Linked DNA regions of Homo sapiens: region 1 is linked to region 2. The links are contacts of gene promoters, found by promoter capture Hi-C in human tissues and cell types (Jung and others, 2019). All regions are on one chromosome and are shown on one strand. Each heading gives the region's core, a stretch centred on a gene start or on the middle of the fragment in contact. The rest is flanking DNA. Distances are from core to core; before and after follow the strand shown. Region 1 has its middle 24 kb from the start of MEP1B. Region 2 holds the start of KLHL14 (kelch like family member 14).

Region 1 (4,413 bases), core at 500-2,999, 610 kb before region 2:
CACGCTTGATATGGCTTAGGTGTGAATATGAAGGACAGGATGAGATCCAGAAAACTCAGGTGTTCCTATTGATGTGCCCAGGTAGTGGGAGGAGCCATTAACAGAGAGAAGCTTGCAGGAGATAGATTTTCCCTAGGAGGAACAAAGTGAATTGGGTTCTAAATGAGTTGATTTTGAGATACGTCCAGCAGGAATTGGATTTTGAATGTGAAGGTTAAGGATAGGAGGTCACCGAAACCATGAGAACAAATTAGGTCACCCAGACTAACATGGAATAATATCTAATAGTTGCTAACATTCACTATAACCCTCCTATGTGTTTATATGTATTAACTTACTTAATTCTCCCAAAACCCTATTCAGGTGATACTTTTACCCCATTTATATAGAAATGAGAGGTTAGAAATAATAAGAGAACTTCCACAATCTCCCTACCCACACACCTACCTACCTATCCACCTCGGTCTGCTGACCTCAAGTGCTTGGTCTTCTATGGATGAAAGTAACTTTTCTCAGAGTGCAACCCCTCCACAGTGGAACAGATCTCATCCTCTCTCACCTCCTAAAATAACATTGCTTCAGCAATTGTCCTCTCCCTCTGTCCTTCATAAAATCCAGCCTCTTTGTGGATCATTCCTATCAGTATACAAACATACTATTATTTCTCCTAGTTTGAACAAAACCAAGACCACAACCACAACCAAAACCCTTGACCCCATTCTGCCTTCCAGCTCATGTTCCATTTTTGTCCTTCCTTTTACACCTCAAAAGAATTGTCTGTACTCATCGTCTCTAACTTCTCTGTTTCATTCTCATGTGAACTCATGCTGGTATGGCTTTTATGGCTTCTAGTCTGCCTAAATTGTCCTTAACAAGGTAGCCAAAGACCTCCATTTTGGTAAATCCAACAAACAGCTCTCAGTTCTTGTCTAATTTGACCTGTCTGCAGCATCCTGACTCAGCTGATCACCTCCTCCTTCTTCTGTCACTGGAGTCAGAGGCTACTAAGCTCTTGGTTCTTCTCCTACCTCTCTGCTCAGTCCCTTAGTTTCTTTTGCTTGTTTCTCCTCATGTCCCTGAACTTTTAGTGGAGACCAGTCCTTGTACCTTCTCTTCTCTGTTCATGCCTTGGTGATCTCATCCAATCTTGTGGCATTAAATATTTCTCATTGCATGCGGTTACTCCCAAATTGGTATCTTTAGCCTGTACTTACCTCTTCATAGATCCAACTGTCATTTCCAATTTGGTGTCTAAGAGAAAATTCAAACTTAGTTTGTCGAAACTGAACTCCTGACCTCCTCCTATCCCATCCAAGCTTAGTTGTCCTTATGCTTTTCCAGGTTTATTTAATAGCAACTTTATTGGTATAGTTGCTTAGCTCTAAAACTTGGATTCAGCTTAGATTCCTCTTTTTTTTTTTTTTGAGACAGAGTCTCGCTCTGTCACCCAGGCTAGAGTGCAGTGGCAAAATCTTGGCTCACAGCAAGCTCCGCCTCCCGGGTTCACACCATTCTCCTGCCTCAGCCTCTTGAGTAGCTGGGACTACAGGTGCCCACCACCACGCCAGGCTAATTTTTTGTATTTTTAGTAGAGATGGGGTTTCACTGTGTTAGCCAGGATGGTCTCGATCTCCTGACCTCGTGATCCACCCGCCTCGGCCTCCCAAAGTGCTGAGATTACAGGCGTGAGCCACCGTGCCCGGCCTGGATTCCTCTTTTTCTTTGATACTACACATCCAGTTCAAATTTCCATGGACTTCACCTTCAAAATATTCCTGGGATCTGACCTCTCTGTACCATCCCCACTGTGGCTCCCGTGGTCTAAGCTGTCCTCAGTTCCCCTGTGGATTTCTGCAATAACCTCATAATCTGCATTTGTCAATCTTTCAGTGTATTCCCAATAGAGCCGCCAGAATAATCCTGCTAAGACTCATTTGATCTTGTTATTCCCCTGCTCGAAAATCATCCAGTGGATCCTTATGCCACAGTGAGTAGGAGCCAAAGTCTTGGAATGTCCTACAAGCCCTTCCCTCTCTCTACTGCACTCAAACAAATTGACCTCCCCTCTTGCTACTCTCTTCATTTGCTCCCTCCAGCCACACTGTTATCCCTGCTGCTGTTTGAACATGTTGGTTGTGTTCACAACTCAAGGCCTTGTATTTGCCATCTCCTATGGCTGGAACTCTCTTCCCATAAAAATCCCCAGAGCTTGCCCCCTCACTTCCTTCATATCATTACTCAGATGTCACCTCCTTGTTAAATCCTTCCCTGACAATCCTATTGAATATTTCTACCCTTCCCCCGACACTCTTTATTCCCTCTCTTAACCATGGTGGATGAATATTGTGCTAACTTAGCTGAGCTGGAGTTATCATTCCCAGATTCTCTTCCCTGGAGAGCTCTGAAGTCACATGGGCCACAGATATGTGTCTCACATGCTTAGAAGGCAGAATTGAAGGAACCACCATCTTGTTTTACACTTAGAAGACTAGTGCAGCTCAGTGCATTGTTGCTACCTGTTGGCTCGCCTGATTGGCACAGGGCAGTGGCTGGACCCTTGACCACTCCTCTAGCTCTAGCTGGATCTTCCTTTAGTTTTTCAGACTGTTAGGTGAGAGATGTGTTTAGCTCCATGGTGAAGGAGGCCAGCTTCTCCCTCAATACGCCTCCTCCCACCCTCCATATCACCAAAATTGGAGGCTTAGAGACGGTGAGAGAGCCATAAGAAGTCCAGTCAATCCTCTTGGTTTACAGCTCAGCTGTGTAGGTTCCATCTTGCTTCCCTTACTTCATTACCATCTTCCTTTTTTTTTTTGGAGATGGAGTCTAGCTCTGTCGCCCAGGCTGGAGTGCAGTGGCGCGATCTCGGCTCACTGCAGGCTCCACCTCCCGGGTTCACGCCATTCTCCTGCCTCAGCCTCCCGAGTAGCTGGGATTACAGGCACCCGCCACTATGCCTGGCTAGTTTTTTGTATTTTTAGTAGTGACGGGGTTTCACCATGTTAGCTGGGATGGTCTCGATCTCCTGACCTCGTGATCCACCCGTCTTGGCCTCCCAAAGTGTTGGGATTACAGGCGTGAGCCACCGCGCCCAGCCCATCTTCCTTTCTTGACTACCTGCCCTATTGATTTCAGGCACTAGTGCCTGACACAGAAGCAATAGCCTCCATATAGACTGTTTAACCAGCCCCCACATTTGCATGTAGGCAAATCCCTACAATAAGTCCTTATAATAAGCCATTACACATGTTTATGTTTGTGGTATGCGGATAAATGTTTAACAACCAGCTTTCTGGAAAAAGAAAAAAAAAACCCTAATTTGTAGCATTTGCCAATTTTCCTGGTATAAATATTCTTACCATGGCCAATTTCAAGCCACCAATGTGACATCACTGAATGGGGAGAAGAGAGAAGATGCTGATAGCTCTCTCAGGCCAGTACTAGCCAGCTCCAGCCCACCACTGTGAATACCTCTTAATGGTCTTGTTTCTCTGGTCAAATCCTAATAAACCTATTTTTTCCCCCACATCTCTTAGCACCTTCTCCCATGCTCTATATTTTAGTTATCTGTGTCCTACTTTGAAATGTAAATTCTATCAAGGCAGGGATTTTTGCCTGTTTTGCTGTATCCTTGGCTCTCAGAAAAGATTTTTTTTTGCCCTTTTATGTAATCATAAAATTAAGTTTATCAAGTAAATTTGATCTCAAAAAATGAGTATGTAGAGTAGCTCCTTTATGGTAGCCTCTATATATATTAAAATTGTTTATTATATTTATTTATTTTTTGAGACAGACTCTCATTCTCTCACCCAGGCTGGAGTGCAAATAGTGCCATCTCAGGTCACTGCAACTCCCACCTCCTCAGTTCAAGCAATTCTCATGCCTCGGCCTCCCAAGTAGCTGGGATTACAGGTGTGTGCCACTGGCTAATTTTGTATTTTTAGTAGAGATGGGATTTCACCATGTTGGCCAGGCTGGTTTTGAACTCCTGGCCTCAAGTGATCCACCCATGTCAGCCTCCCAAAGTGTTGGGATTACAGGCATGAGCCACTGTGCTCAGCCAGAATTTTTTTTTAATACCAAGGTAGCTATTTTAACTCTGCTTCCCTAGTTTCTTGTATGGAAAGAAGCCTTTTCTGTACATTTCTATCTTATCAGAACAGATCTTGGCACTTAATAGCCATTCCACATATATTTACTGAGTGAATGAATGTAGTGTGGGAAGATGTGGCAAGGGTCTGGCAGAGGAAGAACCTGAGTAAGAATTCTTGGAGCTTTGTCAAGGCATGACCTGGTTTGGTTTAGTTCAGCAAATATTTGTTGAGTACCTACCATATGTCAGGTATCTTGCTAGCTACTGAGATCATAAAAAGAATATGGCATGTTTGCCAATCTGGCTGAATTCAGCAAGGT
Region 2 (4,153 bases), core at 1,245-3,744:
GTGCAGCAGGTTGTCGCTGTGGCTGGGGTCGAAGGTGGAGGTCCTGTCCCCGGATCTGGACATGGCGAGCTGACTCGGTGCACCTGGCTTTAAACCCTCCTCCAACCTGGCAGACAGGGGTGGGGGATGGGAGGGAGGGGAGCAGGGTGGTGGAGCGGGTGGGGTGTGGTCGGGGTGGGGAAGGGTGTGGAGGGGAGGGGAGGGCGAAGAACAAGAATCAAGGCTCAGCTTGACTCCCTCCTGGCGCGCTCCGGACCCCGACCCTAGGAGGAAAGTCCGAAGACGCTGGATCCGTGAGCGCCACCAGAAGGGCCCTGTCTGGGGTCCCGGCGCCGGTTCTGCGCCCTGCGGCTCCTCTCGCCACCTCCCACACACTTCGTCCCTCACTTTCCTAAAACCAACCACCTCAGCTCGGCTGTTGGCAGCAACAGCAGTGGCAGCAGCGACGGCAAAGTGGCGGCTGAGGCCGAGGCACCTCGTGGGCTCGTGTCCATGCCGGGCCAGATGAAGGGAAAGGCCGGGAAGTGGGGAGCCGGGGGTGCCCTGAAAGCTCAGAGGCGACCGACGGCGAAGGTTCCAGGTCAACTTGTGCCCGAAGCTTTGCTTTTCGCAGTTGGCCCAGTTTGGGGGAGGGGGTAGGAACAGGGGCCCGACCAGCGTGCGGGGTGTGCGAATCTTAGCTCTCCAAAAGCTGGGACCCCCTTCGATTATCCATGCTGCCCCGAGAAACTCCTAGGCTAATAGTCTGAGGGAGGAGATAAAGCCCTTTCTTCTCCCGGGAAAGTGCAGCGGAGCGCGGTGAGGACCCGCTCAGTGGAATCGGCAGAGGCGGGAGCTGTCCTTATCAATTCGAGCTCATTTCCCTCAACCTGGCCCTGCCCGCTTCCCCGCTTCGCAAACTGTTGGCTTCCCCGTCACCACTCAGTTTGGCTAATTTTCCAGAGATGGCTTTAAACCTGGCAGGAGAATCCTTCCACCACCGCCACCCCCACCCGGTGGCCCCCTCTCCCCCGTCTCGCTCATTTCAAAGCGCGGAAGTTCAGGCATCAATCTCCCCTTCCAGCGAGGGGCGGCACCGAGGACTCAGGGGGAGGAAGTGGGGCTGCGAGGACGCGTTTGGAGAGGGAGCCGGGAGGCCTGGAGGCCGGGAGGGATTCGTGTGCACGGTTTCCCCTCCCGGGCACCAGGCGCAGTCGCTTTAACTCCAGTAACTATGAGAAGTTCAAGTTAGAAGGCAGGTGTTGGGGGAGGGGTGGGGGCTGTCGAACGAGCGGGGGGGCGGGGGAGCAGTGGGGTGCGGGGTCTCTGCGCCCCACCCAGCATCGTCGCCTGCAGCCGCAGCTCCCTTCTGACCCCCTCGGTAGAGCCCCCAGCGGCCCCCCACTCGGGCACCCCCACTTCCCCGGCCCTGGAACTACTTCTGTAAAAAGTCTGAGCCGCCCGCATCTAGGCAGAGGAGGGCAGGGTGGGGGAGGCGAGGCGAAATCGATACGCCAGGTCCTTAACCTGTAATTGCACCTTCCAGGGCTGAGCAGAAAGGGACCCTCTGCTTGCATCCCGCCCGCGCGCCGGCCCGCCGGCCCGCCGGCCCGCCCGCCCGGGGGAGAGCCGCCGCCGCCGCCCGGCTCGGAGGGATCCCGGCGGACCTGCCCCTTCCACTGCGGCTCACTCTGCCCTGCCTGGCGCCGGTCCTGGATCGCCGGCTTCCTATTTATACCGGACTGGGCTCCTTTCGACTCACTTTACCATCCCGTTCCAGGTGGACCCTACCCTCCCTCGCGCTCCCTCCGCCGGCAGCACCCCCACGCCCGCCCCCAAAGCTCTGGCTTGCCTGAAACATCTTACAGAGTCTCTCTCCCTTTAAGAGGACCCGGTCATACCTCTCTCTAGCTCTCTCCGCTTCGTTGTCTCCCCCCGCCCCATCTTTTCCTATTCCCCTTCCTTCTTGTTCTTCTCCCTTGCCTTTCCTCCTCATCTGCTTATTTCTTGCAATAGGAGTTTTTTCTTTATGAGCGTTTGCCATACAACTACCCCCCCGCCAACCCCTCTGAAAGACTCCCTCCCCGGCCCTTCCCCCTCCAACAATCCAAAAGACAGAACAAAATACACACAAGGCAGACACAAGGCCAGAAACTTACCTGTTCTCAACCAGCTGCAAAGTCAAGGCTCACTTAAGCTCCCCCCAAAAATCAATTGTCCTTCCTTTTTAAAGGTTTGCTGTCTCCTTGGGAGGGGGAAAACACCTTCTGGTTCCCAACTCCAGGCAGTCACTCTTTACAATTTATTTTGTCGTACATCATTTGATCACCATGAATTAGCAACAGCAAGAAAATGTAGGAGAGGGAGAAAAGAGAGAAAGAGAGAGGGAGAGAGAGAGGGAGCAGAGCTTTCTGCAAGAGAAGAAGAAGAAAAAATGTACGTGTGACAAATTATGCTACCAAGAAACAACACATCATTATCCTTGGGCCTGGGGCTCAGTGAGTCGTAACGAGAGTAATAGGAAATCCACGGTTGGGGAGAGAAACGGTCGTGCTTGGCCAGTAGAGAGAGACCATACAGGGGGATGGATGCTGGAGAGACTCGCAAAATTATGGCTCAAGGCTATTGTAAAAATTGTCGAGCGTAAATGACTGCGATTTCAAACATCTTTGGAAGAAAGAAGGGGAAAAAGCGAGCCCCCCCTCCCTCCCTCTCCCTCTCTCTCCCTCTCTCTTCTCTCTCTCTATAAAGAACCGTCAAGTTTTAGTGCGCATTGCTAATTAGTCAATTTCTCTCTGCCTTCACAGGCTGGCGACTTCGCTGCTGAGCTGAAACTGCTAATTTCTGTGACCAGCTTTTTTCTTAGCTGTGATCTGGATGAATGAGTAGCTGTCTCACAGAGATGACAAAAATAAACTCTAATCCCCCCCAAAATTTCCACTACATCTTTCTCATGCATAGATTTATGATCTTCAAGTGCTCTGTGCAATATGCAAACTTTTTTTGTGTCTGTATATATGCTGTTGTTTCCAGATTTCACTACATTGGTATGCTGCTTTTCCCTTCCCCCCACACCTCCCCCCCACCCCCAGCACTGTGAAATGCAGAAACAGTCTGATCTCAAAGTATGCTAAGACACTACTTTATTCTGTTTTGGTATTTGGGGTTTGGGTCTGTCCTGAAAGACACTAGCCCTTGCCTAAAAGGTGAGTGGCTGAGGATACACACCGGGGTGGGGGAGTAGAGCTGGTAGACAGAATAGAGGACAGCCCTTTGCTTTACATTTGCTTCCCACAAGGCACTGTTCAAGGTTTATGATCTTATTTGAAAACATATTTTCTCTATCATTTTGTCTGGTTAAACAACTGCCTCTGAACTTCTCTGTCAGCTCTTCAACAGATAAGGGTGCAGAAGTCACGTTTTTTTTTTTTTTTTTTTTTTACTGAAAGATTATCATATTGTTGGATTTGTATTTCAATTAGGAGTCTTTGATTTGCAGGAGCTAGAATCAAGTGCTAGGAAACCCAGCCGCAATTTCACAAATGTAACCTTTCAACTTTAGAGCTCATCTGATATATAAGGGCAACCACATAGTGCTCACATTTTTGACCCTGCTTAGCATGCAAAAGGAACCCCAGCATGTTTCTGGAATTTTAGCTGTACCAGAGATTCATGTGCATTTTGGTAGAGGACATGTTCTCCAGACTTATCTCATGATGTATTGCACCCTTATGTTTATAGCCCTGCATTTCGGTTGTCAATGGGGGTTGGAGGTGTCCAAGAAAGAAAGAAAAAAAAGAAGCAGAAAAAGGAAGGTATGCCCTTGAGTAAAATGAACACGAAGAAAGCTGGACATGAACTAAATTGAGCTTTGTTTGCTATTAACTATATGACTATGATTCATTCTAATTTATATGTGCTCTGATTAGTAAACTTATTAAAATACGTATCAGGGCACCATTGCAAGACATCTATTCAGACCCCCCATCATCCTCTTTGATTTGTGAGAGATGGAAAGACACCTGCTTAGGAAAGGGAGGAAAATTAAAAATTCTGAGGTTCAGAAATAGGGATTCCCCATTTACAATGATAACATTAACGTGCACATGGGATAGTCACACTTAAATGAATTAAGAAGGATCAAACTGAAGCATTTAACCCTCACAAAGCCCCC

The links. The method cuts DNA at HindIII sites, captures the fragments that hold promoters and counts their contacts. A contact is called where the count stands out against the background at its distance.
Region 1: a fragment that was not itself captured here is called in contact with the fragment with the promoter of KLHL14 in region 2 in 1 of the 25 tissues and cell types used here (dorsolateral prefrontal cortex).

What each region holds. Positions count from the first base shown.
Region 1 is chr18:32,163,912-32,168,324 of GRCh38, forward strand. No RefSeq gene overlaps it. Among named protein-coding and RNA genes, the nearest start is that of MEP1B, 24 kb to the right of the region's middle. The HindIII fragment of the contact is 5,135 bases long and covers 1-4,317 here.
Region 2 is chr18:32,770,529-32,774,681 of GRCh38, forward strand. It overlaps KLHL14 (kelch like family member 14), which reads right to left and starts at 2,495. Exons shown (of 9, transcript NM_020805.3): 1 at 2,139-2,495; 2 at 1-106. The coding sequence starts at 63. It overlaps LOC105372055 (a long non-coding RNA gene), which reads left to right and starts at 148. Exons shown (of 2, transcript XR_935342.4): 1 at 148-1,759; 2 at 2,787-2,913. The HindIII fragment of the contact is 6,474 bases long and covers 1-3,316 here.